Linked DNA regions of Homo sapiens: region 1 is linked to region 2. Evidence: promoter capture Hi-C in 16 types of primary human blood cells and fetal thymus (Javierre and others, 2016). All regions are on one chromosome and are shown on one strand. The core of a region is centred on a gene start or on the middle of the fragment in contact, and the rest is flanking DNA. Distances in the headings are between cores, read along the strand shown.

Region 1 (3,891 bases), core at 503-3,002, 430 kb before region 2:
AGGGTGGTGGCTGGGCAGAGGGGCTCCTCACTTCCCAGTAGGGGCGGCCGGGCAGAGGCGCCCCTCACCTCCCGGACGGGGCGGCTGGCCGGGCGGGGGGCTGAACCCCCCATCTCCCTCCCGAACGGGGCGGCTGGCCGGGCGGGGGGCTGACCCCCCCACCTCCCTCCCAGACAGGGCGGCTGGCCGGGCGGGGGGCTGACCCCCCCTAGGAAATCTTAACTGAAATAATTGGTTCTGTCAACAGCAGTGGTATGTTAGTAGCTCTGTCAGTAATTTTTATCTATAACACTAATCTGCCTTAGTAATCAATCTCAAGAAAGATTTTGATAAAAATAGTGGGTAGAAATATTAAAATACTACTGCCCACCCACAGAACACAAAAGTTGTATCTTAATCATTCAATACATTTTAAAAAAAGAAAAAAAAAGAGTAATCATTCAATAAATGTCTGTTACTGAACCAAAAAATGAAAACACTCTCCCACATTTCAGAGAACACATCACTGGATAATTAATCAACTAATTCGATATATAGCAAAAAAGTTACCTTCTATATACTTTAAAAGTCTCTGAGGAGGTAATAAAGGGAATCGAATTGGGTCTAGCACTTCCACCACATGTTTTCTTCTTTTTCCCAAATCTTTCAGAATCCATTGCATTGCAGCTAAGAAGACCTGGTATTCATCCTCAATGCTAAGCTCTTCACTTCGCAAAATTTTGATCAGCTGATCTTTCGTAAGTGCCAGGAACTCTTCTCCACTATGAACCTCCAAGAAATGGACATGAATGTAGTTTTCTGAGAATTCCAAGAGATCATGGCAGGCAATTTGCTCAGAGAACTGAAAAATTCCAATGCAGTTCAGTGGATCAATTTGTCCTTTCAGAAATTCACAGCAAAGATGAACAACTTCAGTCAACTGTAGCATGTCTGCTGCAATAATCAACTCCTGGACATTATTCACACCTATGTTCACTATACCTAGAGAAGTAGGAAGACAAAATGGCCAATAAAATAAAAACAAACATTGGCTTACCATATTCAAAAAGTATTATACTTGATTTCACTGATAGTTTGATGCCTGCAGAGTAGACAGACACTAAAAAAGGCAATCAAGGATTTGAGTAAAGAGCACAAAATTTAAACGATAACGATACCTAACACATTTATGAAAAACTTACAATGAACCAGGTGCAGTATTAATTGCTTTATATGCTAATTTAACCCTTATTATAATCCCATGTGGTAGATATTATTATTTTTCTTATTTTCTTTTTTTTTTTTTTTTTTTTTTTGAGACGGAGTCCCGCTCTTTAGCCCAGGCCGGATTGCAGTGGCACAATCTTGGCTCACTGCAAGCTCCGCCTCCCAGGTTCACGCCATTCTCCTGCCTCAGCCTCCCGAGTAGCTGGGACTACAGGCGCCCGCCACTGCGCCCGGCTAATTTTTTGTATTTTTAGTAGAGACGGGGTTTCACCGTGTTAGCCAAGATGGTCTCGATCTCCTGACCTTGTGATCCGCCCGCCTCGGCCTCCCAAAGTGCTGGGATTACAGGCGTGAGCCACCGCGCCCAGCCTTATTTTCATATTAAAGAAACAGAATCAAAGTTTAAGTCACTTGTCCACAAGTTGCATGGTAAAGCAAGTTGCAAGGTAGGGGTTGACATCAAAGTCCATGCTTTTGCCATAAAAAAGAAGGAAATCATGTGCTTTACAGCAACACAGATGGAGCTGGAGGCCATGATTCTAAGCAAATTAACACAAGTACAGAAAACCAAATATCATATGTTCTCACTCATAAATGGGAGCTAAACATTGCATACACGTGGACACCAAGAAGACATGGATACACATTCGGGCCTACTTGAGAGTGGAGGGTAGGAGGAGGGTAAAGATTGAAAAACTACCTATCAGGTATTATACTGATTAACTGGGGGACAAAATTATCTACATACCAAGCCCCCAAGACACACAATTTACCCATGGAACAAACCCGCATATGTACCTCTTGAACCTAAAAGTTGGAAAGAAAAAAAACAAACAACAACAGCAACAACAACAAATAAAGTCTATGCTTTTAACATAAGGTTATATGCATGTAACAGACATTTACTGAGGCACTGGGGAGAGTAAGACAAGGTCTCTATCTTCAATTATGATAAAACGCCACATAATGTTCATTTTTTGTTTGTGCTTGTTTTGAGACAGTGTCTCATTCTGTTGTCCAGGCTGGAGTGCAGTGGCGCAATCTTGGCCCACTGCAACCTCTGCCTCCCACGCTCAGGTGAGCCTCCCACCTCAACCTCCCGAGTAGCTGGTACTACAGACACTCACCACCATGATCGGCTAATTTTCTGTGGTTTTTTTTTTAGAGACAGGGTTTTGCCGCATTGCCCAGGCTGATCTCAAACTCCTGGGCTCAAGCAATCCACCCACCTCAGCCTCCCAAAGTGCAGGGATTATACACAATGCTAGTTTTTAATATTAGGAATAACCAATAATCTATAACATAAGAGAAACTATTAAATACTTAACTACGTATACCACTTTCTTTTCCAAGGGCTTCACTTTCTTTTTTTTATTTTTTTATTTTTTTATTTTTTTCGAGACAGAGTCTCACTATGTCACCCAGGTTGGAGTATAGTGGTGCATCCTCGGCCCACTACAACCAACACCTCCTGGGTTCAAGTGATTTTCCTGCCTCAGCCTCCTAAGTAGCCAGGATTACAGATGCGCACCACCATAACCAGCTAATTTTTGTATTTTCAGTAGGGACGAGGTTTCACCATGTTGGTCAGGCTGGTCTCGAACTCCTGGCCTCAGGTGATCCACCCACCTCAGCCTCCCAAAGTGCTGGGATTACAGGCGTGAGCCACCACACCCATCTTTTTTTTTTTTTTTTTCTGAGACAGGCTCTTGCTCTGTTGCCCAGGCTAGAGTACAGTGGCATGGTCTCTGCTCACTGCAACCTCTGCCTCCCAGGTTCAAGCAATTCTCCTGGCTCAGCCTCCTGAGTAGCTGGGACTACAGGTGTGCGCCACTAAGCCCAGCAAGACTCCGCCTCAAAAAAAAAAAAATTAGCCAGGTGTGGTAGCATGTGCGCCTGTAGTCTCAGCTACTAGGGAGGCTGAGGTGGGAGGATTGCTTGAGCCTAGGAGTTTGAGACCAGTCTGGGCAACATAGCTAGACATAATCTCTACAAAAAAAATTTAAAAATTAGCCAGGCATGGTGGTGTGTGTTGTGGTCCTACAGGTACTCAGGAGGCTGAGGTGGGAGGATAGCTTGAGCCCTGGAGGTCAAGCTGCAATGATTTTGCCACTGCATTCCAGCGTGGGTGACAAAGCAAGACTCTGTCTCACAAAATAAAAAATAAAAGAGGCTGGGCACAGTGGCTCTCCCCTGTAATCCCAGAACTTTAGGAAGCTGAGGTGAGTGGATCACTTGAGGTCAGGAGTTTGAGACCAGCCGGGCCAACATGGTGAAAACCCGTCTCTACTAAAAAAAAAAATACAAAAATTAGCTGGGCATGTTAGTGCAAGCCTATAATCCCAGCTACTTGGGAGGCTGAAGCAGGAGAATCGCTTGAAACTGGGAGGCAGACGTTGCAGTGAGCCAAGATTGTGCCACTATACTCCAGCCTGGGCGACAAAGTGAAACCCCGTCACCAAAAAAAAAAAAAAGAGTAATATATATTCACTGTGGAAAAAGAACTTTAAGACAGAAAAACTAAAATGAAAAACATATTTTTCCATACACAGACATACATTGTATTAACACTGTAGTGTCTTTCTTCACATAGTTTTTCTCTCTCTCTTTTTGAGACAGTGTCTTGTTCTGTTGCCCAGGCTGGAGTGCAGTAGCATGATCATCACTCACTGAAGCCGCAGCATC
Region 2 (4,259 bases), core at 1,013-3,512:
TGAACTGTGTCATGTATCTTTATATGTATGGCCCCTCTTGGGCCCTTGAGCATGGCCCAAGCACCTTCTAGCTTTGACTGATGTTCAGCAACCCCCATCCCATAACCTGAGGAGCCCAGCACCGTCTGGGCATGGTGTGTCAGTGAATTCTCTGCCTCAACCCCCCTCAGGGTCCCAGTCTCTGGCAAGAGTTGGGGTAGATAGACATAAGCACAATTCACTTTCCCTTCACAGGCAGCAAAGGACATTAGCCACACTTCCTGAACCCCAGGGGGCCAGGCCACCAAAGGTCTCAGGGTTCACTCCCTTCCCTAGCCCCTTGGGAAGGTAGCCTGGAAATGCAGCCAGATCTCGGACCGGTGCAACACGTATTAGCCCATGCATGATGCAACATATTCGAGACAGAGTCCTACAAAATGTTCCCAGCGACTAAGACACAACCCCACAGAAACCCGGTTACAGCCAGTGACACATGAGCACACACTCAGAAATCCAAATGGAAAATCCCCAGGCCAGAGAGCTTAGCACCCTCCCTACTTTCTGGGCTCAAACTCAGTCTTGCCCCACCCCTAAGCACCCCAGCTCAGCTGCCAGTTCTGGAAAACACTGACCTCAGAGAATGGTTGAAGGGCCGAAGGTAGTATGCCTTTCTCAGAATCTCACCCTTCTCCATGTTCTCCTCCTTTAGGCTGTTCCCCATCCCCCTCCTGACCTTCACTTTTCTTACCAGGGCTGATGTCCTCTCCGGCACACCCATACCCTCACAAACGCTCCTTGACACTCACAGTCAGTCACAGAGGCACATTAAATCACAAAGGCACATTCAGCCACATCTACTGATACTCCTATTCTCCCGGCCTCAGACACACACACCAGCAGCTACACCTACACGCTGACCATCACAGGCACACAGAGGCACATCCACCTCACATCCACCTCATACTTGTGTACTCTCAGGGTTCAGTCTTTCATCCTATCCCTCTCTGATCTGTGCCTCCCAATACCTTCCAAGATGTTTACAGAGACCCTTCTCCCTGTGCAGTTAGGAGTGTAAGGCAAGAGAGCCCCTACTTCATGGGGCAGATCAAGAGCTGAGACCAAAGATGGTCTATGTTGCTGACCTTGTCCTGTCCTCCTGCTGTCTTAAACTATGATCCCTGCTGCGGTCACTGAAGCCTTTCCCTGTAAGTATTCAGCCATAACCCTCCCCTCACGCCCTGCATAGTCAGCTGGTTAACACCTCTGTGTGGAATAAGGCAGTTTGAGCAGAATGACTGTATTTGTTGTTCACCACCCACACGGCCCCTAGGAGATGCAGGTCCAGGGCAAACCAAGCTTCTGGGCTAGCTTCTGGGCACTTCTAGAGGATCAGAAAAATCCCAGGTTGCCTGAGATGTCTGAGAACTGAGGAGAGGAAGGAGAGGGAAGAGTTTGAGGAAGGAAGCAGTTCTGGAAGTTCCCTGCCTCTTGGATTCAGCCCCTCCCCAAACCCTCTGCTTCCAGCCAATCCATCCTCCATTAAGGCTGTCAGCACTTTGGGGTGCCTGCCATCAGGAGTCCCCCATATATGTAGGGGTGCTATTTCACAGAGATCATCCTTTGGCGTGCCTAAACAGAACCAGGTAGGGAAATCTTCACTGGCTCTGGTTTTTTTTTTTTTTTCTTGAGACAGAGTCTAGCTCTGTCACCCAGGCTGGAGTGCAGTGGCGCGATCTTGGCTCACTGCAACCTCTGCCTCCCGGGTTCAAGCAATTCTCCTGCCTCAGCCTCCCAAGTAGCTGGGACTAAAGGCGTGTGCCACCACGCCCGGCTAATTTTTTTTTGTATTTTTAGTAGAGATGGGATTTCACCGTGTTAGCCAGGATGGTCTCGATCTCCTGACCTTGTGATCTGCCCGCCTTGGCCTCCCAAAGTGCCGGGATTACAGGCATGAGCCACCGCACCCAGCCTAGTGGCTCTGTTTTTTAAAACCCCACCCTGGCTCACAGGCCCCCTGGCTAACCTTGAGGTGGGAAGATCCACACTATGGTGGTGTCAGTGTGGGTGTTGTTGATACCCATGGCCCTGGTGGCAGGATTGATGGCTGCACTGCTGGCAGTTCGACCTCGGAGACCCTGTTGATATCTTCTGCGGCTACACTTGAACATCCTGGGAAATCGGGGCCTGGGCCAGCCCATACCTGGCCTGCGGTAGGGGGAACGCATGCCCTGGGGCCGAGGGCCACGGACAAGCCGAGATGGCCCCATGGGCACAGGGAGCTTCTGCAGTGTGCCTGGGGGGTGCTGTTGGCCAGGGTAGCTGAGGCCTCTATGACATACAAAGTCTGCATAAGGGCAGGGCCCTTTATTACAAGTCGTGGGCCCTGGCCCCTCCTCATGGGTCAGGCTCCTTCACAATCTTCTTTATTGGGTCTGGCCTAAAAGCCAGCCCAAGAGCCAGACAGCCTCAGTTTGGCCCCTTGGGAAAAGAGGCCCTAGAGGCGGAACTCACTTCCTCACTTTCTCACTTATCCATATAGTAACAATATTAACAATGTTTTTTGAGCACTTACTACGTGCCAGACACTGTGCTGAGCACTTTACCAACGTTATCTCATTTAATCTCAGCTACTTTACAAGGATATGCCATCATTATACCTATTTATATACAGTCAATTCTCATTATTCCCAGTAATGTTCTATAAAGTCGCCACAAACACTAAATACTGAACAAAGGGTAAATGCAAGGTTAGGTTCCTGAAACCCTCTGGTCACAATATTTTTGTCAACTGATCTATACATATAACCTGATTTTATGTGTGGAGACACCTTATTTAATATATATTGTTGGCCAGGCATGGTGGCTCAAGCCTGTAATCCCAGCACTTTGGGAGGCCGAGGTGGGCAGATCACCTGAGGTCAGGAGTTCAAGACTAGCCTGGTTAACATGGCAAAACCCCATCTCTACTAAAAATACAAAAATTAGCTGGGTGTGGTGGTGGGTGCCTGTAGTCCCAGCTACTCAGGAGGCTGAGACAGGAGAATAGCTTGAACCCAGGAGGTGGAGATTGCAGTGAGCCCAGATTGCACCATTGCACTCCAGCCTGGGCAACAAGAGTGAAACTCTGTCTCAAAAAAAAAAAAAATATATCTATCTATCTATCTATCTATCTATCTAACTATCTATCTATATTTGAGTCATTGACATTGAACTCACAGCCAACAGCATTATAACTTGTGCCTGAATGAAACTTATCTAAAGCACATATTTCCCCTATAAGGCACATCACAGCCTTCTTGCACTTAGAAAGACTAGAGAGCACTTCAGCACTACAACTGGGGACCATTTTAGACAGTAAAATCACCAGCAAAAAACACCAAAAAATGTGAGAATATGCGTCACTAAATAGACCACCAAAAAGCACATTTGTTTACTCTATGAAAACTGAAATAAGAAGACAGAGAGTCCTCTTGCTCAACAGACCTCAGCTGGAAATACGTGTGTTGGACGGCTGAAATTTTTTGCCTTTCTGCTCATGTCCATGAATGACTGCAAAAGTACCACAAGTACTGGTTTGGGAATTACAAATAAATTTCAGTAAGCAGGCAAATTCACAGGTATGGAATCTGTGAATAAGGAGGATCCACTGTATAAGGAAACTGGGGCTCAGTGAGGTGAAGTCACACAATTAGAGGCAGGCAGGAAGCAAATCCATGATGATCAAGATCCAAAACCCAGAGCACTTAACTCTCATTATTCTGCACTCATTCACTCAGGAAATGTTCACTGACAACTTCTTATGTGCCAAGCACCAGGGCCATAGATGAATGTAATCTGGTCCCAATTCTTCCTGAGAATGAAACAGAAAGGTTCCAGGTGCGGTGGCTCACGCCTGTAATCCCAGCACTTTGGGAGCCCGAGGTGGGTGGATGACTTGAGGTCAGGAGCTCGAGAGCAGCCTGGTCAACATGGTGAAACCCTGTCTCTACTAAAAATACAAAAATTAGCTGGGTGTGGTGGTGTGCACCTATAATACCAGCTACTCAGGAGGCTGAGGCAGGAGAATCGCTTGAAACTGGGAGGCGGAGGTTGCAGTGAGCCAAGATTGCGCCACTGCATTCCAGCCTGGGCAACAGAGTGAGATTCTGTCAAAAAAAAAAAAAATAGACCTTCTCCTTCTCCTTCCACTCCTCAGTCCCTTCTTCCTTTCCCCCTTACTCTGCTCCTCAAATGCCCCCTTCCCAACTTCATCCTCCTTTCTGTTTGTGGAGGACTCTGTG

Evidence for each region. Contacts are between HindIII fragments. The CHiCAGO score rates a contact against its expected background, and 5 or more counts as called.
Region 1: a contact is called between a fragment that was not itself captured here and the fragment with the promoter of P3R3URF in region 2, in 1 of 17 cell types (M1 macrophages). The highest score is 5.5, in M1 macrophages.

What each region holds. Positions count from the first base shown.
Region 1 is chr1:45,740,352-45,744,242 of GRCh38, forward strand. It overlaps IPP (intracisternal A particle-promoted polypeptide), which reads right to left. Exons shown (of 9, transcript NM_005897.3): 3 at 550-981. Among named protein-coding and RNA genes, the nearest start is that of IPP, 8.4 kb to the right of the region's middle. The HindIII fragment of the contact is 9,851 bases long and covers 1-3,891 here.
Region 2 is chr1:46,174,226-46,178,484 of GRCh38, forward strand. P3R3URF (PIK3R3 upstream open reading frame) reads right to left here and starts at 2,263. Exons shown (of 2, transcript NM_001328655.2): 1 at 2,003-2,263; 2 at 1,261-1,404. The coding sequence starts at 2,246. The coding sequence ends at 1,361. P3R3URF-PIK3R3 (P3R3URF-PIK3R3 readthrough) reads right to left here and starts at 2,263. Exons shown (of 10, transcript NM_001303427.2): 1 at 2,003-2,263. The coding sequence starts at 2,246. TSPAN1 (tetraspanin 1) reads left to right here and starts at 862. Exons shown (of 9, transcript NM_005727.4): 1 at 862-1,184. It also overlaps a transcript of PIK3R3 not described here. The HindIII fragment of the contact is 5,416 bases long and covers 1,334-4,259 here.